Regions from separate parts of the Homo sapiens genome. Here all the other regions are linked to region 5. Evidence: promoter capture Hi-C in 16 types of primary human blood cells and fetal thymus (Javierre and others, 2016). All regions are on one chromosome and are shown on one strand. The core of a region is centred on a gene start or on the middle of the fragment in contact, and the rest is flanking DNA. Distances in the headings are between cores, read along the strand shown.

Region 1 (4,575 bases), core at 426-2,925, 240 kb after region 5:
TGACTGTCTTGTGAGACACTACAGCTCTTCCATCCTTGGTGTCATTCTTATTTTTAGAAATCATTTGCTATGATCTTACTTTTCTTCCCAGACACTGAAGTCCCCCAAACCCTCAGTGTGCTCCTTTACCATGGGGTTCTGAGCAATCTAAGAGCTTCAGGCCCTGTGGCCAGAGTCTCCAGGAAAATTCTCAAGCTCTTGAAAACTCCCAGAAGAAAGGCACAAAATATGGAGCAAGGCACACGCCCTAGGGAGAGGGGAGGCTCCAAGACATGGGTGCTGCCTGGCTCCCTGCAGTCCTCTGACCAAAGTCTCTTGCCCCTGGAGACCCCTTCTTCCATGGGAGAGTATAGAAAAGGATTGATGTGCAGGTGAGACAATCGAGCAGCCAAGAAACAGGTTGCTCTTCTGTTAATACATTGAGAAAAATACACAAAAACTTGAATGTTTTAAATGAATTTCATATTTTTATTCAAGAAATTGACAGTCTGCATGGTAAATATTGTCTGTGTATGAAATATCAAACTTGTTTCCTTCTCAGAAAATGAAAAATGATTTTTTTTAGCTTTAGAATTCACTTACCTTGCTTACCAGCACATTTTTAGCTTGAACTGCTCAGTGTCATCTGAGAGGATGCAGGTCTATGATCTCTCCCAGTGTGGTAGTCACAGTGGCTGGGGTAGTTTCAGACCGCAAGCTCCCTCCATGATGACCTTCACATTTCTGCAGCCCCCACAGTGAGATGTGCCCCCATAAAGGATCCCCTGCCCGGGGTCCAGCTGAGAGATCTTGCTTGGCCAGGTCCTGTGATTTAACACCTCAGAGACATCTGCAAAAATACCTGGTCACTTGACACAGCACTCAAATTTGTAGTTGCAAAGATAAACTGTGATTTCTCCAGGGTGTTCAGAGTGTTTGCCTCCTTAACTCCTGGGAGCAGCCTGCCCTTGCAGCCCTCAGACGGCCACTACCTGGCCTCAGCAGCAGGACACAGTAGTGGCCCCACGCTGAAAAGTTCTCTACATGCAGGTTCTTATGACCTCAGCTAAGATGATCCTTCCTGAGTCCCAGCTCCCTGAAGAGGTGGGAGACTCTACACAGTTTCGGTCAAGGCTGCTGCCATGGAGAAGGGACAGGGCCACAGCAGGAGCCCTGGCAGAGAGGGTGCTTTCCCTGCAGGCGCACAAGCCTAGGACTTGCACCTGGAGCATCTTCATGTGGAAGACGTGTGGGGCCACGCACACTGCTGCATGCACCCTGAAGACCCACCTTTCTGCTTTTTCAGGGCCACAGAGGTTAGGATTCCCTAGGACTTCCTAGAACCACCCCCCAGTTGTGAGGACCACTAAACACAGGCGAACCTCAGAGATACTGTTCCAGACCACTCCGGTAAAGCAAAGAAGATTGAAGATCCCAAATAAGTGAGCCACACAAGTCTCTTGGTTTCCCAGTGCATATAAAAGTTACACTTTACACTGTACTGGAGTCTGTTAAGTGTGTGACAGAACTATGTCTAAAAAACAATGTACATACCTTGGTTTAAAGATTCTTTACTGCTTAACAGTACTGATAGAGAGACATGAAGTGAGTGTGGGCTGTTGGAAGAATGGCCCTGATAGACTTTCTCGACGACTCAGCGTTGCCACAAAACTTCAATTTGTGAAAAACGCAATAAAGCAAAGAGCAATAAAACAAGGTGTGCCAGACACTATGCGTGAACGCACCCGAGGCAGAGAGAGGCACCGCTAACTGCTCCACCTGCCTGCGGGAGAGGCTTTCTTTATATGTTAGAAATTATGCTTTCCCTTCAAAATTTCTTTTGTGTATGAAGTATTTGTTCAAGCCCTGTTCTCAGGCACATTCAACTAGATTTCTGCCCACATAAGCTGGCCTCGTGGTGGGAAGAAATCCTTCGTGAAGGTTGGCAGAAAATGTGTTTTTAGGGGAAAATAAAACAGCAAACATACACACACAAATAGTCCTAATGTAGAGTCTACATTAGGGGTGGCTTTTAGCATTAACTTTTCTTGGCGTAGATTTCTACTTTCAGAGGTAAAGGCTACAGCAAACAGCTGGCTCTGGAGATTACGTTCACTTCCAGCCCGTGGTCCAGGCTGAAGGAGGAAGCCGTGAGCAGACACAGACACCCACGGCTGGGAAGCGGGGCCTCATGGGCCTGGGGCGGGCACTGGGCGAGGCGTGCCAAGGCCTGCATGTACACCACCTGGCGAGGCGTGCAAAGGCCCACGTATACACACGTGTATGTGTGTGACACAGGCCGTTGGCATCTGACACAATGCAATCGCAGATGAGACTGATGTTGACAACAACTCCCGTTTGCCCACTGACCCATCAGCTCCACGCCCGGCATGAGAAGCTCAGAGAATTCCTCGGGGAAGACATAAACAGAAGTAGTGAGTATGTCAGGCTTCATGGTGGTTCAGGACAGCATTTTCCCTCACACTTCTAATGGCCTTCCTCAGGACTTGGCATTTTGTATTCTGTCTCCCACAGCTCTAAGGCCAACTTCAAAAGATCAGCAACAAGCAAATTGCTAGAGAACTGTGAAGACCTAAACTTGACACTGGCTGCTGCTTTGTTCTAGGGATGGACACTTTTAAGGAAGGGATTCCTTGAACAGTGGAGTTAGCTGAGTTTTTCAGTTTCTATCAATGTGCCTATTCACACGCAAATGTACCAGATAAGCCAGCGATATCTCCAGAGCCCCTAGTCCTCGACCACTATTGATGCCTCAGTGGTTATCATGATAGAATTCTTTGTGATGTTTTAAATATTGTATGGAAACTACAAAATCAGAAATCTGTTGTTTCCAACTAGAATGTTAAAAAGAAAAAAAGTTTACACATTTTATGATACATGATTTTATTTACACAACTGATTTTCTTAGTCACCTTGATTACAAAAAAAGGAACATGATCTGGTTTAATGACCTTTCATAAATAGATTTTACAAATTTTAATAACTGACAGATTACTACTTAATACTCAGTAATACTTAATACTTAGTAACTTCTGCATTTACGTGTATGAAAATTCCAGTAGAGCTAATAAGGATGGGGACTTTTATAACTCAGGAATAGACAATTAGGTTATTGGTCAAGGATAAATTGGTCAAGGATAAATTCCCCATCACTGGGTCAGCTGTTTAGACCTGGAGTTCTTACCCTCCTGAGAACAAACCTGTTGCAGCAATTCACACTTACTGTGTAGGCATTTTTAATAATTTGAGAAAGTTTATTCTTATTTCTGCATTTAGTAAGACTATCATTAAGCATATCTGAAAACCAAAAGTTTACCATGTCTATAGATATTTGTAAAAGAACTTATCACAGTGTATCTGAAAAACAGCCCAAATTAGAGCCAGGTTACGTGTCCAATAAGCATTTTTCAAACTCTCCCTCTGGGTGTGTGCGCACACACCACAAGGCTCTATTACACACGCATCCAAGCCTTGGCCTCACAAAATGCCACAATTTTGCTGTTTTTGTGAAATGCCTATATAAAATACAGTATTTGAATGAGACTATTTTAAGTCCTATCAGTGCTTTAAGTCTGAAGAGCAGGCAGTGTTTTGGTAATCCGACTCTTTTCTGCGAAGTTACAGTGCTGACAACACAGCCAGAAGAGCTGCTGAGACTTCCCAAAAGCTGCCCCCACAAGACTGGAGGAGTGTTGTGCATCTGTGACCACAAACAAGCAATGAAGAATGACAAGAAGCTTATGAGTCATGGTCAGAATCTAAGAAACAGAAACATCTTGTAGCAGCATTAAATTACAAACACAGGAAGAGCTGATCCATGGGCCTTTCACACAGGCTCTATAAGAGCCAAACACCATCTTTTTCACATCAGAATTGTAATCAGAGGTGTAGCAGTCCTTGGTCATTGTCATTGCTACTTCTAACACAGCTAGCTAGCCTGTCCCTTTATGAGTAAGTTGATAAGATTCAAATTAAAGTGAGTACAAGCCCTACCTGCTCCTAACAGGTAGGATGAGCCACTGCTTTCGCCTCTACTTGGCTGTGGGGTGTGCTGCAGGCTGGTGGCAGGTGGGATTCACAGCAGCAAAGCCTCTGCTGTCAGCAATTCTGGGACTCCAACAGCCCCCTTTCTTCATACTGTTCTCATCAGGGGTAGTGGCTGCTCAGTACCGAACACGTGAGGATGATGTGGTGGGCCCGGGGGACAAATGTGTCTTGTGAGCCCTCTTCCCTGATACCACCATCCACATAGTAAAGATGGCATGGAATCTCTCCATTGTGCTAAATCTAGGAATCATCTTAATCATGATGAAAACCAAATGTCTTCCTAAGGAAAGGTTGCATGATTTAAAAAAAATCATTCTCAAGATCTCGAATGCTGAGCCCAGGCCCATCCTCGGGGCCCCTCTTCCCCTCCAGCCCTGGAGGGGCATTGACACTACCCCCAGGCCCCCCCCGCAGTCTCTCATTCTGAATAAGGACAGGTCATCAGGGCCAGCATTTTTCCTACTGCCTTTTTTGTGTGTGTGCTTCATGTTTAAATTTTTTTGCCTTGTTTGGCGGCAACTAGAAAAA
Region 2 (4,575 bases), core at 1,727-4,226, 150 kb after region 5:
GAAATAATTCATTTTAGAAACTATTTCAGCCAGGGCTTTCTTTTATTTTTTCCAGAGGCTTAGTTGGCTCTCAACTTAATTTGTACTATGGTTATTGGTCTTTTTGGGTTCTAAACAGTTTTACTCTATTTTTGGTTACTTATATTTTCTAGATAATATAAGTAACCATTAAAAGTTCTTGCAGATCATTTACCACAGATTTAGGTAGTTGTTTGTTTTAAACTTTCTTCTACATATCTGGAGTTAGATTCCCTTTTTTCATGCCCAATGTATTTTTCATGTCCTTCCTTTCTTCCTTCTTCTCTCCCTCCCTTTCTTTTTTAAAATAAATTTTTATAATTTTTTTAAAGAAATAGAGACAGGTTCTCACTAGAGCCCCCCAAAGTGCTGGGATTACAGGCATGATCCAGGGTGCCTGGCCCTCCCTCCCTTTCTTCTTTCCTTTTGTTGATTAGAATTGCAAGAGGGTTATCCTTGAAATCTGTGTTTTCAAAGAATCAGCTCTTGAAGTTTATAAGGAGTTCTACTCTATTCTTTGATTAAGTCATCTAATTTGCTTTTTAGTAGTTTCTTCTTCCAGTTTGTTTCACTGTTTTGTTGAGAAGCTCTTTTTTAAGCTTTTTGAATCAAGTGCTTAGTGTTTACTTCAATACATTATTGAAGTCTATGAACTTTTCTGTGAGTACAGCTTTGGCCATATCAAATTCGATACAGAGTTTTCCTATAAAGGTTATTTTTCTGACATCTGTAATTGGAATTTGAATCTTTAACACAGGTGTGATTTAGGGATTTTTTTTATGAAGTGGGTATTTTGTTTATCAGTTATATATTAATATCCAACTATAGTACATTGTGCTTATGTCATTCTCTCACCTGCACACTTCTATTTGGGGACTTTACTGGGTTTCATTGGTGGTATAACATACGACCATGTGGCAGAGACTCTGGACAGTAGAATGTGCCTTTCTGTTTCTAGACACAGTTTTTCACATATCTTGGTCCCCTGTCCAGAGAGCATGCACTGCAATATTTTCATCCCTTGGGCATCTACCACTTGCTGGGCAATTTCTGGTTGTGAATCTAGCATGAAGAGGTGCTCACTGTGTTTCCTGGGCATAGCTTTGTGTTCTTGGGAGTTTACCTCTAATAGGGTTATAAAAAAAAAACCAATAAAGTGTTTTTCTTACTCTCCACTCTCAGCCATTTAGCACAACATTCTAATACCAGATTCTCTAACATTAAGACAGCAGCTGGGTGCCCTGTAATTCAATTTGGACAATATTGGAGGCGAAGTCAGATCTCACAGGTTGAGAGCTTGGTCCCACAAGGCTGTCCCCCTCCCTCGACTTCAGATGCCATTTGCAAGTCTCAGGTTGTGGCCTGTGCTTCTGACCCACCCAGCAAATCACCACTCCTGGGACTCCTTTCTCAGATTCAATTAATTTGCTAGAGCAGCTCACATAATTCAGGGAAGCACTTGCTTCCATTTACCCACTTACTATGCAGGTTTTTACAGTGGTCACAGATGAACAGTAAGAGGAAGGGATGCTCAGGGCAAGGCATGTGAGAAGGGGCGTGGAGCTTCCCTGTCCTCCCAGGCACTGCACTCCAGGGCCCTCCACCTGCTTGCCTACGCAGAAGCTCTGAAGCCGCTCCTTTTGGGATTTTGTGGAGGCTTCATTATGTGGGTGTGACTGACTGAATCATTGGCCATTGGTGATGGACCCAACCTTCAGCCTCTCTCTTGTCCCTAGAGCTGGGGGTGGGAGTGAAAGTCCCCACCCTTTCATCACATGGTTGGTTCCCCTGACAACCAGCCCCCAGCCAGGCTGTCCAGAAGTCCATCAGCACACAGAAGACACTTACCACTTTGGAGATTCTGAGAGTGTTAGGAGGGTGTGCTGGGAAAAAAGACAGCGTCATGCACCACATAGTGGTCCCCTGAGATTCATAATATGATATTGTCACTGTGCTTTTTCTATGTTTAGCTGTAGAAATCCTTACCGTTGTGTTACAGTTGCCTCCAGTATATTCAGTGCAGTCACACACTGTGCAGGTTGGGATCCCGGGAGCAATAGGCTGTACCACGGAGCCTGGGTGTGTAGTGGGCTGTGCCATCCTGGTCTGTGTAAGTCACTCTGGGGTTTGCACAACGACGAAATCGCCTAAGATGCATTTCTCAGGAGGTATCCCCGTCGCGAATGGACGCATGACTGTATGTGCCCGGGCCACACGGACAGGAAGGGCCAACTTGCAGGCAGGAGGCCTGGGCGGCTTCCAGCTGTGCCCTGTCCTCAGCCCCACACCTGTATCTCATCTGGGAAGTGGAGAGCAGGGCCTCAGAGGCCCCCAGATGGTGTCACAGGGCCCAGCAGGTGGGAGGCCCTCTGCCTACGCCACTCATTGGTGGTGAGGCTTGTGGGCAGTTTTGCAGGGGCTAGAATGCAGCACGGGCCCCTTGGACCCTGGCCTGATTTCCCCCACCCCACCTCGCTGCCCTGCGCTTGCAGCCTAACCTGCAAATGCAGCAGGGGCAGCTCCTCCTGGGTCAGGCCCTGTCCATCCCACAGGCCTGGCTGGCTCCCCCTGCTGTCACCTCACACCATTCTCCTTCTCCGGAGCCCTGTGCTGGTTGCCCTGGGTAGCACATCAGACAGGGTTCCAATCCCAGCTCCACCAGTTTCCCAGACTGGCGCTGGTGACTGAGGCCCTTTGGGCCTCTGTTCCTTCATCTGGAGAAGGGGGGAGCAGCAGGAGGGCCACCCTGGGGAGGCATGGAGACGGCTGTGTCTGGCTTAGGTTCGAATCAGCCTGGTGGCACTAACTGATGTGGGGAGGTTTCAGGATGACTCAGCAGCCAATTAAATGCTTACAAATTCATGGTTTATTGGGACGTTTTCACACCCCAACAATCATGCAAATATATTCCACACACCCAGGCAGTCATAAGAGAGGCGGGAGCGAACCACAGTGTCGGGGGATGGGGAGACCAGCTGCTGATTGCCCAGGGTCCAAGTTCCTTCAGAGCAGAGGGACCGCAGACCCCCGGGTGGAGGGATGGGATCACTCCTCTTCTCCCAGCAGGGCGTCTGGTGGCCTCCAATGGAAAAGAGGCTTCGGAGTTCTCGAGGGCAGTGCTTCTGCAGGTGTCTTGGTCATGAGCAGCTTCTTTGTATTTATGGCCCTCCGCAGGAGTGTCCCTGGCCATCATCTTCAGGTGCCTTTTGACATCACTTTCTTGTTGGGTCTCAGGGATGCCTGGCCACAGCAGATATCATCTGATCATTGCAGTCCACCACACCTATGCTAATCACTCTGAGGGCTCAGCAACTTCACTCTAAGCTGAGTTACTTGTCATAAGTACTCCCCCCCCTTTTTTTTTTTTAAGACAGAGTCTTGTTCTGTCACACAGGCTGGAGTGCAGTGGCGTGATCTCAGCTCACTGCAACGTCCACCTCCCAGGTTCAAGCAATTCTCATGCCTCAGCCTCTGGAGTAGCTGAGATTACAGGTGTGCACCACCGTGCCTGGCTAATTTTTTGTACTTTTAATAGAGATGGGGTTTCACCATGTTGGTCGGGCTGGTCTTGAACTCCTGACCTCAAGTGATCTGCCTGCCTTGGCCTCCCATCGTGTTGAGATTACAGGAGTGAGCCACCACACCCGGTGAGATAGGGTCTTGCTCTGTTGCCCAGGCTCTGTCACCCAGGGATGCAGTGGTATGATCTTGGCACACTGCATCCTTTACCTCCTGGGCTCAAGCAATCCCCCTACCTCAGCCTCCTGAGTAGCTGGGATTACAGGTGTATGCCACTGCCCCTGGCTAATTTTTCTGTAGAGACAGGGATCTCCCTATGTTGCCCAGGCTGGTCTTGAACTCCTGGGCTCAAGCGATCCTCCACCTCGGCTTCCTAAAGTGCCAGGATTACAGGTGTGAGCCATTGTGCCTGGCCGTTTATTTTGAGACCCTAAGGACCACAACACATTATTACACATTCCTGTGCACTGGTACTCTTGGGGCTGGTCAGTGTCTAACCACCGGTTACCAGCCCCCAGGGCCAGGGGACAGACGCACAGCATGTGACAGAAGAGCTGCCTGTGTCCACGGCATGGGGGTGGCAGTCAGGACGTGTGTCTGGGTGCTGTTTCCCAGAGGCTGCCAGACTGAGCATGCCCATGGCTCTGTGACCCAGCAGGGGGCTGGGTGCCCCCTTCCCCTACCCCCATGACTGGCCCAGAGAGAGCTCCCTGCTCCCACAGCCATCTGCCAGGAGGACAATTCAAGTGAGGGAAATGGATTTTTATTTGTTTTGGAACACAAAGGAAAAATCTTTGCTCAGCGTAATTAGTTATCATTTAAAAGTAAAAGAACCATATGTCTTTTATTCCATATCCCAGCACCCTAGGTGGCTGTAGAGGGCGGAGGTGCAGCTCACCCGGGACAGGTCTGTGTGTGGCCTACGCGGCTGGCCATCCCTTCCTGCCTCTGGAGGCCCTCAGCCCTGACCCTGCCCGCTCACTGTCCCTCTCTCTTGGTCATGGGCTGCTGCTTCGGGGCTGACTCCAGGGCTGGCTG
Region 3 (4,568 bases), core at 1,148-3,647, 210 kb after region 5:
ACAAATTTGATAACATAAAAAAACTTTACAAATTCTCTGCTTTGCAAGCTGAAATAACTTTCTCCAATTTTTAGTTTAATGTTTGTATGTCTAAATGTATTTCAATTAAAAAACTCAAATCATTCTCAAGGGGATTTTCTTGTGAGACACAAGTATTCTGTATCTTAATTGGGGTGGTGGTTCGTGAGTGTATACGTTTGTCAAAAGACATTAAATTCCAGCCTGGACAACATGGCAAGACCTTCTCTCTACAAAGAATAAAAAAGATGGCATGCACCTGTGGTCCCAGCTACTTGGGAGGTTGAGGCAGGAGGATCACTTGAGCCCAGGAGGTTGAGGCTGCAGTGAACTGTGCTCACTCCACTGCATTCTAGCCTGGGTGATAGAGTGAGACCCTGTCTCAAAAAAAAAAATAAAAATAAAAAAAGAGTCATGATACCTATATCCTTAAAATATGTGGATTTTACTGCATGTAAATTATTCCTTAGTAAAGTTGATTTTTTAAAAATTCAACTTGTCTTAAAATGAATTCAAAACAATTATCAAGGCCATCAAATTTAGTTTCTAATAGGTGTCACTCTTAATTTATTTCATAGTTCAAATTGTCTATAACACAATATACTACACATGCTTTAAAAAAAGAGAGAATATAAAAAAATAAAGTTCCCCTAAAGCCTGTAAAATTATTCTAAGTAATTATAATCGGTGAAGATAAATTAAGGAAATCTGAGTAAAACGTGATTTTTTTTAGGAGAATGTAGCTTAATCATTAAGCCCTGACAGTTACCTGAAGTTCTGCATAAATTGTACAAATGCTTCAGTTCTTTCAGCAAGTGGCACAATGATATTAATAATTGATCTAGTGATGTCAATCATCTCACTCTTCACTTTCATGAGAGGTCCAAAAGGGCGGAAGAGGGTCACATGTCTATATTCCGTAAGGTCTGCTTTCTTAAAAAAGAGTTCATACTGTGTGCCCTTATCTCTCTCAGTGCGATAATAACCTAAAGGAAAGAGTTAGGAACAAAGACGTCTCCATGTCAAAGTTTACAAATTCAATGGGAAGACAGATTTTACTCACTTAAACATAAAGGGTATTAAACTAGACCTGCAGGATTTTTACCTATTTGTGAAAATACTTATCCCCACTGCACAGTAACAATTACTCGCTTAAAAGAAAAGGTTAAAAAAAAAGTTCACTGTTCTGTTATTTTATTCAATCTATAAAATATACTACAAATGACAATTGTTCCTTTTTACATACGACTTTTTAAAAATACTAGAGCCTATCAATATGGTAATCATGATAAATAAAGAAATTACTTCTAGCAATATTAAAATCTAGACCCAAGAGCCAAAATTTCTATTGGTTTAGGTCAACTAAAAGAAATCGAGTGCCTTCGTGTCAGTTATGTGATACAAAGAGTGCCACATGGTCTCAATTTTGAGGACAGGGCCAGTCTAGTGAAGGAGACAGAAAAATAGACAAATAATAACAATATAGTGCTATGTGATATATATATATATCTGTATATATATATGTGTGTATACATACATACATATAAAATCACTGACTAGAGTGAAGTCAAAGAAAAATTGGTACAGATTTAAACACAGTGATTTGAGATGCCTTTGAGAGAAAAGCATGCGCATCTACGAGGCAATCTGATTTTTTTTTTTTTTTTTTTTTTTAGACGGAGTCTCACTCTGTCACCAGGCTGGAGTGCAGTGGTGCAATCTTGGCTCACTGCAACCTCCATCTCCCGGGTTCAAGCAATTCTTCTGCCTCAGCCTCCCAAGTAGCTGGGACTACAGGCGTGTGTCACCACGCCCAGCTAATTTTTGTATTTTTAGTAGAGACGGGGTTTCACTATGTTGGCCAGGATGGTCTTGATCTCTTGACCTCATAATCTGCCCACCTCGGCCTCCCAAAGTGCTGGGATTACAGGAGTGAGCCACTGCGCCCAGTGGCAATCTGATTTTTAAGTATGGCGCTCAGGAGAGAGAAGAAGGTTAGACCTACAGATGTGTGAGTCACTCAGTAAATATCTGGGTATAAAATGGTGAATAAAATAGACTTGGTCCCAACCCTCCTGAGGCTTACACTTTAGTAGGAAGCACAAACCAGGAAATGGGCAATGCCACATACTGTGACAAGCAGTATGAATGTACAGGTGACAAGAGCACACAGAAGTACTGCTGTCTTAGACCTGAGGTTGCAGATGACTTCTCAGAAGAAGTGATATCTGAGCTAAAGTTTAGAAGAGGGATAGGAATTAGTTGTCATTACTAATTATTAGTAATTATTCTCCCTGCAGTGGGCAGACAGTGGCACAGTAGAGGAAAAGTGAGGAACAGAATATGTTCCATTTAGAGAAAAATCCTGAAGTATCAGAATCCAAGGAGAGTTATAAGACAAAAGCAGGAGCTGCAGAATATAAAACTGGCACAGCTCCCTTTCTTTTTAGGTAGAGCTGATGTGAGGACATTTTACACATGTTACTTAGTTATCTTATTTCCTCCGCAGCTTCCAATTCTGCCATAAGCTACAAACATACAGTGAGAAGACAAAAAGCTGAGCTTGCAGAAAAATCAGAAGAGTTTTGAGAAAAATAATCCATCAAAAATGGCAGGAAGTGACAGCAGAAAAAAGAGGAGGCCACAAGGAAAGGCAGCTGCAATGCCACTGCAAAGCATAATGCCCTCCCTGATGGCCTCCAAGGGCCTCAGTGTATTATAATAATGCTACAGTGCAGCAAGTGATGGCCATGATGATTTGGAGTCAAAAAGTCTACATGTGCTATACGAGGGGTCCCTAACCCCCAGGCCACAGACCGCTACTGGTCCGTGGCCTGTTTGTTGGGAACTAGGCGGCACAGCAAGAGGTGAGTGATGGGAGCCTGGCAAGCATTACCGCCTGAGCTCCGCCTCCTGTCGGATCAGTGGCTGCACTGGATTCTCAAAGTAGAGCAAACTCTGTTGTGAACTGCACATGCAAGGAATCTACACTGCACGCTCTTTATGAGAATCTAACTAATGCCAGATGATCTGAGGTGGAACAGTTTCATCCCAAAACCATCCTCACCATCCCATGGAAAAATTGTCACCCATGAAACCAGTCCCTGGTGCCAAAAAGGCTGGGGACCACTGTGATAACACAGTTTATAGAATCAAGCAAAGAGAACTTTCAAGAAACATTTATTTTTAAAATGGTTTAAGTCAGCAATTAAATGTCTAGCAGTGAGTGTAAAGGAGATGGGTAGGGATCTAGAATTATTACTGTTAATATCAATCAATATCTTAAATTTTATAGCAGTGTTCTTCAACCTCTGAGTCACATCCCATCTTGATACATAAAAATTCCATACCCTTTCTGAAATATGTATTAGGAAAACAGGTATTTCCTTACTTTTCCAAATGCCAAATGTGCTTTTTAAACTATGTATAACCCCTTGTTCAGACATGAGCTTCTCCTTCCTCCAATACGAAAAATAGCTAAGAGTCTACTAATTTTTTCTTTCCTTTATCAAATGGTTTTCAAGTTTTGAGTTTTAGTTTACACATTTTTTAAAAACATAAAAAAGAACACCAAGATCAGGTAAGTGAGGAATATAAATCATACACATGCAACAAGAGCTGTTTTATTCTATTTCCCTAGTCCTTATTCTCCATTTTTATTATGATCTCATACCTTTTTCCAGAAGGCCACTTAAAATTCTTGGTGCAATGAAGTGCAAAAACTTTCAGTGTTTTAATACTGTGGATAATGACTGACTTATATTACTAACATTTGTCTACAATACAATACTAGCATTTGTCTACAGTACAATACTACAATACAATACCAGCATACAATACTAGCATTTGTCTTACTAACATAATATTGACCAACATATTTTTCACATTACCTTCTACGAAGTCATTTTCATTAAATATCAGTTTCTCTCCAAGGGGACCCTCCTCATCTTCTTGTTCATCATCTTCATCAGGATTATTAATGACCTCCAAGCCCGCTTCAATAACTTCCACCAATTCATCTCGTTTGTCTTTTCTAACTGGCTTTTCTTCAGGATGGCGAGTGAGACCCATTTCCAATTGAAATACTTTCATTAAGGTAAAACTTTCAAAGGGAATGACCCCATACTCACTGGGTAGTTTGGCCCCTATGCTAACTTCAGCTTTGTCAATTTGGGAATGAAGAAACTCTAAAAGATCACTAGGTGCTTGCTCTTTGTTGCTCTGATAGCCTATGCCATTAGCCCCTACATTCCTTCTTTCTTGCAGTGACCGCATCTTCTCACTCATTTCTTGTAATTCTTGTTTTAGTTGGGCAATTTGGCGTTTCAGACTGGTTGCCCTGGTCTGATAATGTTCTTCTTGTTCCTGTAGGAGGGCTTGATAATACTCTTTACCATAATTTTCCCCAACAACACCAGGAAGAGATGCATTTCCATCAGTCTGGGGGGCACATTCCAGGAGGTACATAAATAATACCAAACTGCAGAGCAAAGCAAGGCCCAACAGCAACCAGTGGGTCCGGGTGTGAAGAATCAGTCCTCTTCTAGGCA
Region 4 (4,445 bases), core at 1,031-3,530, 130 kb after region 5:
CTTGGCTCACTGCAAGCTCCACCTCCTGGGTTCACGCCATTCTCCTGCCTCAGCCTCCTGAGTAGCTGGGACTACAGGTGCCCACCACCATGCCTGGCTAATTTTTTTGTATTTTTAGTAGAGATGGGGTTTCACTGTGTTAGCCAGCATGGTCTCAATCTCCTGACCTCGTGATCCACCCACCTTAGCCTCCCAAAGTGCTGGGATTACAGGCGTGAGCCTCTGCATCCGGCCATATTTTCACTTTCAACTTATTTGTGTTCTTCTCTCTAAAGTGGGTCTATTTTAGAAAGCCATGTAGTTGGATCATGTTTTTTTTTTTAACTCTGATAATCTCTGACTCTTAACTGGAGTGTTTAATTCATTTACATTTAATGTAAATACTGATAAGGTAGGATTTGCTATTTGTTTTTTATGTCTTATGCCATTTTTGTTCCTTTATTCCTTCATTATTTTCTTCTTTTGTGTTAAATAGATATTTAGATATTATCTAGTGTACCATTTTAATTTCTGTCTTTTCCTTTATTGTATATTTTTGAGTTATTTTCTTACCTGTTGCCTGTAGGGTTATAATTAATATCTTAACAAATAACTATGTATATGTTATATGTACATGTCAATGTTCAGATTAATACAAACTCAATTGCAACAGTATTCAAAAACTTTGCTCCTCTGTAGTTCTGTTGCCTCTCCTCTCCTTTGTGCTGTTACTGCCATAAAATTTACATTTTTATACCTTGTGTGCTCATCAATCTATACTTATAATTATTGTTTCATGCAGTTGTCTTTTAATTCAGGCACATTCAGGGTAGTATGGTCATAGACCAGTTGTCTTTTAATTCAAATAGGAGAAAAATAGAGTTAAGTGCATAAAATGTGTTTATACTATCTTTTATATTTACTAATATATAGCAATAAATATAAAACCAGTAAAGTTACCTTTAATGGTCCTCTTTATTTTTTCACATGATTTCAAGTTGCTGCTTATTGTCCTACTATTTCAGCCTGAAGGACTCTCTTTAGTAGTTCTTATAAGGCAGGTCTTCTTCTGACGAGTTCTCTATTTTATTTGTCAGGTAATTTCCCTTTCATATTTGAATGACAATTTTGCTGCATAAAGAATTCATGGTTGACACCTCTTTTCTTTCAGTATTTTGAACGTGTCAGCTCAACTGCTTCCTGCCCTTCATGGTTCCTGATAAGAAATCTACCTGGAGTTTGTTGAACTTTTAGGATATGGAGATGAATATTTTCATCTAACTTAGAAAATTTTAGCCATTATTGCTTCTAATATTTTTTTTCTGCCTTATTTCTCACTCTCCTCTTTTTCTGAGACTCTTCTTATACATATGATAGTGTCCATTATGGTGTCTGTGGCTCTATTTATTTGTTCCTTTCTTTTTTCTTTCTGTGCCTCAGACTGGATAATCTCAATGGACGTTTTTTCAAGTCACTGATTCTTTCTTCTCTCTGTTCAAACCTGTTGTTGAGCCCCTCTTGCTATGTTTCATTTCATTTACTTAGTTTTCAACACCAGAATTTCTGCTTGGTTCTTTTTTATAATTTGTATTCCTTTATTGATATTCTCTGTTTGATATATTGCTTCCATACTTTCCTTTAGTTCTTTAAACATCAATTCCTTCAGTCTTTAAAAAATATACTTAAAGTAGCTGATTGAAAGTTTTTGTTTAGTAAGTCAATTCTGGAAATCAGATTCTCCCCACTCTTTGGGGTTTGTTGTTGCTGCTGTTTATTGTAGTAATGGTTGTTTGTTTTGTGACATTTCTGGATTACTTCTGCAAAGTCTGTATTCTTTTGTGTGTGGCACTGAAATCTCTGCTCAGTTATCTTAGCGGTCAAATAATGATTGGAAAGAAATTTTCATAAGTGCCTGGAGTCAATAAAGTTCTCAGTCTTCGCTAAGGGGCTCTGTGTCTTTGGGTATGCTTTCAGCTCTCAGCTAAGCAGCTGATAACTCTGCCTTAGTCTTCTCTTCCTGCTTGCACAGAGACTCAAAGTCAGCCAGAAGTGAGTGCTTAGGGTTTCCCAAGTACTTTTCTGAGCATGTGCACAGCCCTGAGCATGCACTTGACCTTCTAGATTCTCAGGAATGCACTGCAGTTTTTCAAAACCCCTATGATCATGTCATTACTGAAACTTTCCTTTTAAGCTTTCTGGTTAGTCTATTGCTTGCTTCACTGTTATCTACTGCTTCAGGCATTTGTGAAATTAAATACCAGTAATTGTTTTTGACAATGAACCTTGGGGAATATGATTTTTGTACTTGAGACCTCTGAGTCAGGTCAAATACAGACATCCTTGTAAGTGGGGTCTCCATGGGAACTACTGGACAGGTCAAATAATGACAGTTTTCTGAGAATGAAGCTTTGAAAGAGTTCCATTGCTGTTTTCCCTCCAGGGGCTGCTACGCCAGTGGTTTTCATGATGAATGTGGGGTCCTACTTTTCAAGGCACTTGGGATAGAGAGTCAGGGATGGGACTAGGGCAAGTTCAAGTGCTATAAAATTTGCAATTCTTACTGAGATTCAGTTATGTTTTTTGAATAAATCCTCCTAAGATTTCTGCAAGCGTTTAGTTAATTTTGGAAGTTCTAAAAATGTGGATTCTGACCTTTTTGTTTTTTGCTGGTTTTCTTGTTGCGTTTATGGAAGAGAGGGTTTTTGGAGGTCCTTACTCCACCATTTTCACTACCTGGCTATACTCTATTGAAAGCACTTCTGGGATGTCTCTTTAAACTTACAATGATCATAACCTTTGACCCAGCACATCAAGTATTAGGAGTTCATCTTTTATATGTGGTCACACATTTGAATAAAAACTTTTCATCAATAATGCCCATTGCAGGAGTGTTTTTCGTTGCCAAAGACTGTAAAGCACCTTGGTGTCTTTTGCTAGAGGACCTCTTACATGTGTGGCAGCCCACCTACCCAGTGGAATACCCTGCAGCTGCCACAGAACGTATGGAGTTGCCAGGAGCTGAGGGGCTCTCTCCAGGGAGCTGCAGGTGTCTGGGGCAAGTAAAGAAACTACAGGGCATCATTCCAGGCACCACTGATTAGAATGAATAATACCCCTTCTTCGAGAGCCTGTGATTCTGTGAATGACTAAGAAAGAAACTTCTGGAACATTTGTGTCTGCTCTAGGAACAGACACATGCACAGAAGCACGTGCAGACTTGTGTATTCGTGGGTTGCCTCATTTCCATTTGATATCAGGTCCCTTTCCACCAGCCTAGAGTGTCATCCTCTCTGGCTCATGGGGATGGCAGCTGTGGGCCCTTCCCATGGAAGAGGGGGCAGGACTCCCTGAGATGCATTGCTGCCCACATGCCCTACCAGCCTGACCCTGATATCTTTCAGGGTCCCTCAGTATCCCCACTTGCCCGAATGGCAGTCAGGGGCCCTGCCCATCACAGACAGCCTCTCCCCTGCCCTGCAACATGTTATAGGGACCTGCCAAAAGAGGACCTGGGGAAACCCACGGGACCCTCACAGCACCCTGGTGTCTTTGCAGAGTTGCAGGAGTGTATGTGGACATGGGGCTGGGGCAGTGAACAAGGAGGCTGGGGAACCCAGGCTTTCCCCCACTAAACTTAAATGAAATATAAGTAAACTGTCAAAAACGGTAGTAGTAGAGCTATCTAAAGTACTGCAGTTCGGTGAAGTACACTGAGCAGCTCAAGGGTAGGAAACCAGACAATCTGCGATGGCTAACCCTGCTGAAGGCAGGTCTGACTCTGCGATGGCTAACCCTCCTGAAGACAGGTCTCAATCTGCGATACAACACCCCCGAAGGCAGGTCTCAATCTGCGGCGGCTAACCCTCCTGTAGGCACACATAAACTAGCCACGGCTAACTCCCCTGAAGACCCCTTTAAGTCGACATGGCTAACCCTCCTGAGGGGCAGGTGTTACTCTGTGATGGCAAACCCTCCTGAAGGCAGGTCTCAATCTGCAGCACCCCCCCTCCCTCCGCCCCCCAAAGGCGGGTCTCAATCTATGATGGCTAATCCTCCTGAAGGCGGGTCTCAGGCACACCTGCGTCAGGCCTGGCCGCCTTGGCCTGTGTGGCCCACTCCCCTGATGGGCAGGTGGGCTGTGCTGAGCCCAGATCCCCGCCCACAGGTACAATGGCTGGGTCTCTGTTTGCCTGTGCCTGAGTGTCTGCAGGACAGGGCTCTATTCCCTGTGGGAGAGGAGACATCACATGGCGGTCCTGGGACATTCAGGCAGAGAAGCTCTGTGGTCTATGTGCTGGGGCCATGCTGGGATGGTCCCTGGGACTTCTATGGGGCTGGGTGTCGTGGGATCCCTGAGGAGTAGCAGCTGAGTTTGGGGAGAGCGGAGCCAGCTAGGCATCCTGGCATGAGTGCGTTCAGGCCTGGGCTTGGTTGGAACCCACGCCGTGCGTTAGCCTGGTGCCTCT
Region 5 (4,838 bases), core at 277-2,776:
GAGCCTCCACAAAAGCAAGGGTGTGGAGGAGGGAGGGAGTGCTGAGTCCTGGGATGAGATGACTGCAGCAGCCAGGACCTCCCCTGCCAGCCCTGGCAGGGGACCCTACTCCAGCAGACCCAGATTCTGCTCTCAGAGTATAGACCTCCTGTGGTATGACATTTCCCCCTCAGGTTGGAAGTAGCCAGGACCCCATTTACTTGTCCTTAGGGAGGCTGAGTCTTTGAGCGCAGGCCCCCTCCCAGCCCTCTGCATATTGTTAGCCTAGTGTGGTCAAGTTTTCAATACTGAAGCCATTGTCATCATCTGCTGTACCCAGCTCTGGCCTCCTGATGAGATCACAGATCCAGGGCCAGCTGTCTGGGCTGGGTCCCTTCTTAGCAACTTACCAACTGTGTGACTCTGCAGGTTCCTCACTGCTCCTTCACCAGTGTCCTGTAAAAGGAGGATCATCAGAATAGTAGCAACCTCATAAGGTTATAGCGATGGAATTACGTGAACTACTATTTGTCAAGCCTAAGAACTATGCCTAGCACACAGTAAGCACTAAAAACCTGTTACAATAAATACATCCATAGGCCGGGCGCAGTGGCTCACACCTATAATCCCAGCACTTTGGGAGGCTGAGGCGGGTGGATCACCTGAGGTCAGGAGTTCAAGATCAGCCTGGCCAACATGGCAAAACCCCATCTATACTAAAAATACAAAAATTAGCTGAGTGTGGTGACAGGCGCCTGTATTCCCAGCTACTTGGGAAGCTGAGGCAGGAGAATCACTTAAACCTGGAAGGTGGAGGTTGCAGTGAGCCGAGATCCTGGCACTGCACTCCAGCCTGGGCAACAGAGGGAGACTCCATCTCAAAATAAATAAATAAATACATCCATAAATAAACACATGGTCCTTCTGCAGTGGGAGGGAGGCACTGGAGGGAGAGACTGTTAGGCACTGCTTCTGAACATCGGTTCTTGGGCTAGGAGCAGTCTCCAAAGCTGGCTTCCCCCAGCCTTCACTGGTCTCTCTACCTTCACCAACCTGGAGTTCCTGGAATACGAGGGTCTCAACTCTAGGTCACATTTTTTATTTTATTATTATTATTATTACTATTTTTTTTTTTTTTGAGACAGGGTCTTGCTCTGTTACCCAGGATGGAGAGCAGTGGCGTGATCTCGGCTCACTGCAGCCTTGAACTCTCTTGGCTCAGGTGATCTCCTCACCTGAGTATCTCAAGCAGTTGGGACCAGAGGTATACCCCACCAGCTCATATATTCTTTAGCCAAGGGCTGGCTTCTGTTTCCTCCAACCCCCAACCCACCATCCATATGATAGTGGGTGCAAAGCAGGAGGCCTTCAAGCGGCTGCTGCAGCCATATCTGTCCTCAGACCCCTCAACAGGCTCCTCATTACTCAGAATTCTTGGGCACCCACCCCCTTCACCCAGCAGCCCCAAAGTGGACGCCTGCTCACCTGCGAGGTCACCTTGGCGAGGGCTCACCTGAGCTGGCAGCGCAGAGAACGGATCTGAGGAGGCTGCTGGGCACGTGGGTCGGCTCTTTAAACCCTGCAGCCACGCCCAGGGCTCCATGACGCAGGCTGGAGGGAACTGGTCAGGCTCCCTGCCACACCCAGGGCTGTTGGGGAGGGGCGGGCTGGGCCGAAGACCCTCTTTTGGCTTCTTTTTTTTTTTTTTTTTTTTTTTTTTTTCTTTTTTTGAGATGGAGTCTCACTCTGTCACCCGGGCTGGAGTGCAGTGATGCAATCTCAGCTCACTGCAACCTCTGCCTCCTGGGTTCAAGCAATTCCCCTGCCTCAGGCTCCCGAGTAGCTGGGACTACAGGTGCACGCCACCACACCTGGCTAATTTTTTTTGTATTTTAGTAGAGATGGGGTTTCAATGTGTTGCCCAGGCTGGTCTCCAACTCCTGAGCTCAGGCAATCCGCCCACCTCGGCCTCCCAAAGTGCTAGGATTACAAGCGTGAGCCACCGCGCCCAGCCTTTCTTTTGGCTTCTTTAGCTCACCCAGATCCTAAAAGAGGGACCTGGAGGGTGCTGGGCAGGGTGTTCCTGGGCTCTTGTGCCAGCTTTGGGGGTTCTGGGACCTCTGTGTGGGGGTGTCCTGGGGACCACGGAGGATACCAGGAGCCAGGCACTGACCTTGAGGCTCCCTGTGCTCAGCAGTGCCATGCCACTGCTGTCACTTGGGCTGGGTGTCTACTGAAGGGAGGCTGGTGGCCGATGGGCACCCCCGGGGGTGGCTCACCCTCTGACAGGGCCCTGACACCCACTTAGCCTCCCCCACAGGTGAGGGATGGGGCCAGGAGGAGGATAGACGCCCCCGGCTGAGGAGTGGGCTGCCTCCCTCTGCAGACCTCAGGCCTGCCTTGTTGCTGGGGGCCAAAGTCACCCCACACAGGCGTGTGGAGGACCCCAGGCCTCCCTAGTCTGCTGTTACCCCTCCTTAATTCTTTTCCAAATGAGGGACACTTGTCCCTGTCCAGAAGGTAAGGGGGGATGGCTGACAAGGGATGGGGGTCTCTGGGCTGGGAGGGCTGGGGAGGGCAATGATGGTTTAGTTGGTTTGTTTGTTTATTTATATATTTATTTTTGAGCTGGAATTTCGCTCTGTCGCCCAAGCTGGAGTGCAGTGGCTCGATCTTGGCACACCACAACCTCCACCTCCCAGGTTCAAGCAATTCTGTCTCAGCCTCCCGAGTAGCTGGGATTACCGGCACACACCACTGTGCCCAGCTAATTTTTGTATTTTTAGTAGAGATGGGATTTCGCTATGTTGAGCAGGCTGGTCTCGAGCTCCTGACCTCAGGCGATCCACTGCCTCGGCCTCCCAAAATGCTGGGATTACAGGTGTGAGACACTATGTCTGGCCCAGACATACTTTTAAGTGGAAAAAAAGTATAGGGCAGTCTGAATAGGATGCTGTCACTTGTGTAAAAATATAAAATATTGGTTGGGAAAGGCGGCTCACGCCTGTAACCCCAGCACTTTGGGAGGCTGAGGTGGGCCTGTGTCTGTGTGCATGCTGCATGGGGCTTAGCACAGAGGAGGCGTCCCGGTGTTTCCTCAGCCAGCTGTTTACTTGAGTTCATTGCATATATGACTGCACCTAGCCCTCACAGAAGTCTTTGGAGGTTCATACTCTCATTAGCCTGTCAATCTACAATAGTCAAACAGGTTAGATTTTAGTTTAAAGGAGTTTATTTAAGTGTAAAGGTTAAGGATGGCCTGCTCAGGAAGTAAGGATGGTAAAGAATGGAAGTCATGGCTGGGGGCGGTGGCTCACGGTTGTGATCCCAGCACTTTGGGAGGCTGAGGAGGGCAGAACATGAGATCAGGAGTTCAAGACCAGCCTGGCCAACAAGGTGAAACCCCGTCTCTACTAAAAATACAAAAATTAGCCGGGCGTGGTGGCGCGCTCCTGTAGTCCCAGCTACTTGGGAAACTGAGGCAGGAGAATCGCTTGAACCTGGGAGGCGGAGGTTGCAGTAAGCTGAGATCGTGCCACCGCACTCCAGCCTCAGCGACAGAGCGAGACTCCATCTTAAAAAAGAAAAAAAGAGAAGAATGGAAGTCAGAGTTTTAAAGTCTCGGTGGAGTGTGGGGGTTAAATCCTGACACTCTGGGAGGCCAAGGTGGGCAGATCACTTGAGCCCAGGAGTTTGAGACCAGTCTGGGCAACATAGCGAGACCCCATCTCTACAAAAAAAAATAGAACAAACAGCCTGGCGTGGTGGCACACACCTATACTCCAGCAGAGGTGGGAGGATCGCTTCAGCATGGGAGGTCAAGGCTGCTGTGAGCCCAGAAAGCACCACTGCACTCCAGCCTGGGTGACAGAGGGAGACCTGTCTCACAATAAATACGTAAAATGTAGAAGTTTGGGATCATTTATTTTATTTTTATTTTTTTGAGACAGAGTCTCATTCTGTTGAGACAGAGTCATTCTGTTGCCCAAGCTAGAGTGCAGTGGCACGATCTCTGCTCACTATAACCTCCGCCTTTTGGGTTCAAGTGATTCTTGTGCCTCAGCCTCCTGAGTAGCTGAGATTACAGGCCCGAGCCTCCATGCCCAGCTAATTTTTTCTATTTTTAGTAGAGACAGTGTTTCACTACTTTGACCAGGCTGGTCTCAAACTCCTGACCTCAAGTGATCCACCTGCCTCGGACTCCGAAAGTGCTGGGATTACAGGCATGAGCCACCGTGCCTGGCCTGGGATCGTTTATATAGACACAGTTTAGGAACGTTTAACAGGATTTTAGCTGTTTTTTTAATCTTTTTTGAGACAGGGTCTCCCTCTGTCGCCCAGGCTGAAGTGCAATGATACAGTCATGGCTCTCTGCAGCCTCGACCTTCTGGAACAAGCAATTCTCCTGCCTCACCCTCCTGCGTAGCTGGGACTACAAGTGCACGCCACCACGCCAGGCTAATTTTTGTATTTTTTTTGGTAGAGACAGTTTTGCCATGTTGCCCAGGCTGGTCTCAAACTTCTGGGCTCTAGTGATTCACTTCCCTTGGCTGCCTAAAGTGTTGGGATTACAGATGTGAGCCACCCACTGCCGCTGGCTGAATTTTAACTTTTAAAATTTAAGGTTTAATGCATAGTTATAATGATCTGGGCCGAGTGTGGTGGCTCACGTCTGTAATCCTAGCACTTTAGGAGGCCGAGGCAGGTGGATCACCTGAGGTCGGGAGTTCGAGATCAGCCTGACCAACATGGAGAAACCCCATCTCTACTAAAAACACAAAATTCGCCGGGCGTGGTGGCGCATGCCTGTAATCCCAGCTACTTGGGAGGCTGAAGCAGGAGAATTGCTCGAACCTAGG
Region 6 (4,634 bases), core at 1,175-3,674, 180 kb after region 5:
CATCATTCCCACGAGGTGAGCGCCACCCAACAGAAACCTTTCTGGGGTAAGGGAATGTCCTGTATCTGTGCTGTCCAGTACAGCAGCTGCCAACCATATGTGGGTCCTGTCTGCTGGGATGTGGCTAGTGTGACCCAGGGGCTGAATTTGGGATGTGAATTTGGACAGCCAGGGGCCCGTGTTGGACAGAAGCTGGGCCTCGGGGCCTTGCCACCCCATGCAGTGGGCAGTGCAGGACAGGTGCTCGGGTGTCTGTGGAGCAAATGGGGACATGGAGATGATGCTTGAGCTTTTAGTGAATGACATTTTTTAGGTCTTTAAATCCAATGGCATCCCTAATTTCCTGGTGAAGAAGTTATTTTTGGAAGTGTTCATCTGCCTCAGCTGAAGAAGGGGGAGTGCATAATTTGCTCTGGCCTTGGATACAACCTCGAGCTGGGAGGGCCATCCCCTGCCATGGGCAGTTCCTCCAGGGCAGTGGCTTTCAAGTGTGGGTCCTTGGGAACCTGTTTGAATGTCCATTCTTAGGCCTCTCCACACACCTCCTGAATTGGCAATACGGTGGGGGCCTAGTCCAATCCCTGGGCCACACAGTACGTGTGAGAAGCACTCGGTGGGTGATAGTCTGTGTGCCTTGTGACCAGTACATCCCTGTGTGATGGCTGAGTGTCACCCTTCACAAACGTTGCAGGAACAAATGGATGTCAGAGTGTCAGATGTAGCAGAATGATAAGCTAAGGATCTGTAGTAAGCCATGGAGACTTCTGTGACACACACTGCTTGTGACACACACCGACCACGCCCATACGAGAACATAGACCCTGCTCCTCAGGGAGGCACAAGGCAGCAGGGAGGGAGCAAGGAGCCGGGGAAACTGGAGTGAGAGCTGGTTTCAGCCCCCAGCTGGAGAAGCTTGGACAAGCTGTTTACCTTATAGCCTCCATGTTTTTCATCTGATCACGGCTCTCTTGCAGGGCCGTGGTAGCAGACAGAGCAGGCACCTGGTTCATTGTCAGCACAGTCAGTGCTCGCTGTAGACTGGCCTTGGTGCCGAGGACGCCAAGCAGCACTTCTGCAAAAGGCCACAGCACCTTTTGGGAAAAGTGAAGCAAAGGCTTCTAAGAAGCAAAGGCAGACAGAGCAGGCACCTGGTTCATTGTCAGCACAGTCGGTGCTTGCTATGGACTGGCCCTGGTGCTGCGGACGCCAAGCAGCACTTCTGCAAAAGGCCACAGCACCTTTTGGGAAAAGTGAAGCAAAGGCCCCCTTCTCAAAGGAACACCTGGGGTCCTGGTCAATACGAAGCATGTTAGCATTCACCTAACATGTCACTGTTCACCTAACAGTCACTGTTCAATCCAACCAGCATAAAAATATAAATGGGAAAGAATTCCCACAAATTTGCATTCAAAACTTCAAGAAGCAAAACTTACAATCCATCTGCAGGCCAGTTTAGACCACGTTAACACAATTTCAATCTTTATTCCCAACAAGGAAGTCAGGATACTGTGAGGAAGGTGAGGGGCTGCTGAACACCCCACAAGTATCTACCCACAGCACCAGGATGCTCAGGTGCAGATGCTCAGGCGCGCTCAGCAGGGCTGAGTGGTTCAGCAACAGTGCAGGGAAGAGTGTAAGAAAGTAAACTGCGCCACTTGTGCATTTCTGGCAGTGTGAGAGATGAAGTGCGTGCCCACTGAAAACAACAGATAAAGTTGTACAAAATTTAAAAATCCAAGTGAAGGCAGGGAGCCAGAGAAGTCAGGGAAGCTCTGCAGCCTGCTTTGCCCTGAGGGTAAGGACCATGAGCTGCTGTTTTCAAGTCCACAGGGGTAGAGAAAAAAGTCCAGGGCCCACCTCAAGATGAAGAATCAAATAGGAGACCCCAGCCCATAAAGCTGGCATCCCAAAGAGCCACCCCTCGGTGCAGCAGTGAGCTTGAAATAAGGCGCTCCACCCAAACCCCACCGAGGGACCTAGGAAAAGCTCCCTGATTTGAATCTCAGCACTGAATGGAGGCAGGGAAATTTTACCTTCATAATTGATAATGATGAGTCAGTGAGCTTCACAAAATTTTGCAGCACAAATCAACACTGGTCCAACAAACTTCAAGCTAAGAATTCTTTGAACTGGCCCTGAACTGGTACTGCCCCTAAACATCCAGTAGAAACAAACATTCTGACTTATATTCCAGTTTTTAAAAAAATACCTCCTTAGGGCCTGGCGCGGTGGCTCACGCCTGTAATCCTTTGGGAGGATTTGGGAGGCCGAGGCGGGCGGATCATGAGTTCAGGAGATCAAGACCATCCTGGCTAACATGGTGAAACCCCGTCTCTACTAAAAATACAAAAAATTAGCCGGACGTGGTGGCGGGTGCCTGTAGTCCCAGCTATTCGGGAGGCTGAGGCAGGAGAATGGCGTGAACTCGGGAGGCGGAGCTTGCAGTGAGCAGAGATGGCGCCACTGCACTCCAGCCTGGGCGACAGAGCGAGACTCCTCCTCAAAAAAAAAAAAAAAAAACCTCCTTAGCTGTGTCTAATTTTGTTCAACCCATCTGCTGGATTTAAAAAATTCAATTATTGTAGTTTTCATTTCTAGATGCTCTATTTGGTTATTTTCCAAATCTGATCATAATTCTGAAGAAATTAACAGAATCTAACACAGAATAAAGCATTGGAAAACAAGAAACAGGTTGAGGCATGGAGGACACAACGGTTTTAACATGTTATCAGAGTTAGAGAAGCAAAGAGACAATGAGGCAGGAATCATTTTTGAAAATAAAACAGCTGAGAATTTTTCAGAGTAACAATCCAAGGAACCCGAAGAATCTCAAGCAGGACCAGAAAAAAAACAAACCCACATGCAGATGTATCATAGTGACACAGAACAGAAAAGAAGAGAGTGGACTGCTTTCAATGGATGATGGCTGTTACGCTGATGATTCACAGCAGAAATAACTGAAGCCAAGAGACAGTGGAATAGTAACTTCATTGTGCTAAAAAGAAGAATGATAGCCAATTTAGAATTCTCTACTTTTTAAAACTATTTATTAAATGAGAGATAATAAAGATATTTACAGACAAACTAAATGGCGTTTGCTATCCACAGACCTTCCCTAAAAGAAAAACTAAAGGATGGATCTTGACTCTTCCTGTAACCCATATACAAAACGATTTCCAGATGGATCACAGACCTAAATATGAAAGGCAATGCAATGAGGTGTCAAAAAAAGAATTAAAAAAAATTCTGGAGTAGGAAAGGTTCTTAAATTGGACACCAAAATCACTAACCATAAAAGAAAATTGGTTTTTATTGAAATTAAGAACTTTTGTTTACTGACAGATACCATTAACATAGTGAAAGAGAGGCTGTTGCTAGGAGAAGGTATGTGTAATATGTAAATCTGACAAAGGACTCAAATTCAGAATACAGAAGTAACCCCCACAAATCAACTAAAAAAAAAATCAAACTAATTTTTTTTAAAAAAGGCAGAAAAACTTCAACAGGCATTTCACAAAAGAAGATATCTAAATGGCCAATAAGCATATGATAAGGTACTTGACATCATTCCCTGATTATAAACTAAGATGAAAATAAGAACTGTACACACCCACTAGAAATTATAATTAAAGAGTTTAAATTAAAAACACTGGAAATACTGTGTCGGGGAGGAGGTAAAGCAACTGATCTCTCATACATGGCTGGTAAGGGTTATTTAAAAGGATTGAAAAAAATCTGCCTGCTCCTGGCAAAGCTGATCAAGAAAAAATAGAAGGCATAAGTATATCAGGAATGAGAAAAAAAGGATATCACTATAAATCGTATACATATCACACAGATAATAGGAGGATATTGATTTCATCTGAATTTTCAAATTTATCAGTATAAATTCCTAGAAAATTATGATTTACCCAAAATAACTCAATGAAAGCTTATTCTACAAACAATAGAAAGTCTGAATAGTTCTATAATTATTAAATAAATTGAACAACTGATCAAAAATCTTCCTAGATAGAAAAGTTCATGCCCAAGTGGCTTTCAGGCCGTTCTTCCAGGCAGTTCAATATTCAAGGAAGAAATTAATTCTAATTTTACAAAACTTTTCTAGAAACAGAGTAAGAAGGAACACTTGTAACTTAAGTTTATAAGCTAGTATAACCTCAACAGAAAAGCCTAATGAGGGCCAGGCATGGTGGCTCACACCTGTAATCTCTGCACTTTGGGAGGCCAAGGTGGGAAGATCACTTGAAACCAGGAGCTTGAGACCAGCCTGGACAACAAACCAAGACCCCGTCTCTACACACAAACAAACAAAAACAACAACAACAAAAATGAGTCAGGTGCAGGGGTGTGTGCCTGTGGTCCCAGCTACTTGGGAGGCTGAGGTAGGGGGATCACTTAAGCCCAGGAGGTTGAGGCTGCAGTGAGCCATGATCGCCCCCACTGCACTCCAGCCTTGGAGACAGAGCAAGATCCCGTCAATTAAAACAACAAATAAATAAACAAAAATGCCCAACAAGGAAGAGAACGGGAAGTCATAGGCAATCTCATTCATGAACATAGATTAAAAACACCTGAAGTATATACATACCCACACCCCCGACATGAATACATATGAGATGTGTAAATGTGAA

Evidence for each region. The method cuts DNA at HindIII sites, captures the fragments that hold promoters and counts their contacts. A CHiCAGO score of 5 or more calls a contact.
Region 1: a fragment that was not itself captured here is called in contact with the fragment with the promoter of FXYD4 in region 5 in 1 of 17 cell types (fetal thymus); the score reaches 5.4 in fetal thymus.
Region 2: a contact is called between a fragment that was not itself captured here and the fragment with the promoter of FXYD4 in region 5, in 2 of 17 cell types (neutrophils and naive CD8 T cells). The highest score is 6.0, in neutrophils.
Region 3: a fragment that was not itself captured here is called in contact with the fragment with the promoter of FXYD4 in region 5 in 1 of 17 cell types (neutrophils); the score reaches 9.2 in neutrophils.
Region 4: a contact is called between a fragment that was not itself captured here and the fragment with the promoter of FXYD4 in region 5, in 4 of 17 cell types (total CD8 T cells, non-activated CD4 T cells, naive CD8 T cells and 1 more). The highest score is 7.6, in total CD8 T cells.
Region 6: a fragment that was not itself captured here is called in contact with the fragment with the promoter of FXYD4 in region 5 in 3 of 17 cell types (neutrophils, naive CD8 T cells and monocytes); the score reaches 10.4 in neutrophils.

The regions. Positions count from the first base shown.
Region 1 is chr10:43,128,643-43,133,217 of GRCh38, reverse strand. RET (ret proto-oncogene) reads right to left here. Exons shown (of 20, transcript NM_020975.6): 20 at 2,867-4,575. Among named protein-coding and RNA genes, the nearest start is that of CSGALNACT2-DT, 7.5 kb to the left of the region's middle. RefSeq lists enhancers at 1,683-2,283, 2,284-2,884. The HindIII fragment of the contact is 4,128 bases long and covers 1-3,739 here.
Region 2 is chr10:43,219,595-43,224,169 of GRCh38, reverse strand. All of the region lies in intron 1 of RASGEF1A (RasGEF domain family member 1A), which reads left to right. Among named protein-coding and RNA genes, the nearest start is that of RASGEF1A, 45 kb to the left of the region's middle. The HindIII fragment of the contact is 4,714 bases long and covers 620-4,575 here.
Region 3 is chr10:43,155,151-43,159,718 of GRCh38, reverse strand. It overlaps CSGALNACT2 (chondroitin sulfate N-acetylgalactosaminyltransferase 2), which reads right to left. Exons shown (of 8, transcript NM_018590.5): 2 at 3,909-4,568; 3 at 788-1,004. Among named protein-coding and RNA genes, the nearest start is that of CSGALNACT2, 19 kb to the right of the region's middle. The HindIII fragment of the contact is 6,189 bases long and covers 1-4,568 here.
Region 4 is chr10:43,237,645-43,242,089 of GRCh38, reverse strand. All of the region lies in intron 1 of RASGEF1A (RasGEF domain family member 1A), which reads left to right. Among named protein-coding and RNA genes, the nearest start is that of RASGEF1A, 27 kb to the left of the region's middle. The HindIII fragment of the contact is 215 bases long and covers 2,173-2,387 here.
Region 5 is chr10:43,368,324-43,373,161 of GRCh38, reverse strand. It overlaps FXYD4 (FXYD domain containing ion transport regulator 4), which reads right to left and starts at 1,526. Exons shown (of 9, transcript NM_173160.3): 1 at 1,465-1,526; 2 at 390-435. The HindIII fragment of the contact is 9,288 bases long and covers 1-4,838 here.
Region 6 is chr10:43,189,233-43,193,866 of GRCh38, reverse strand. No RefSeq gene overlaps it. Among named protein-coding and RNA genes, the nearest start is that of CSGALNACT2, 53 kb to the right of the region's middle. RefSeq lists a silencer at 2,423-2,652. The HindIII fragment of the contact is 3,019 bases long and covers 915-3,933 here.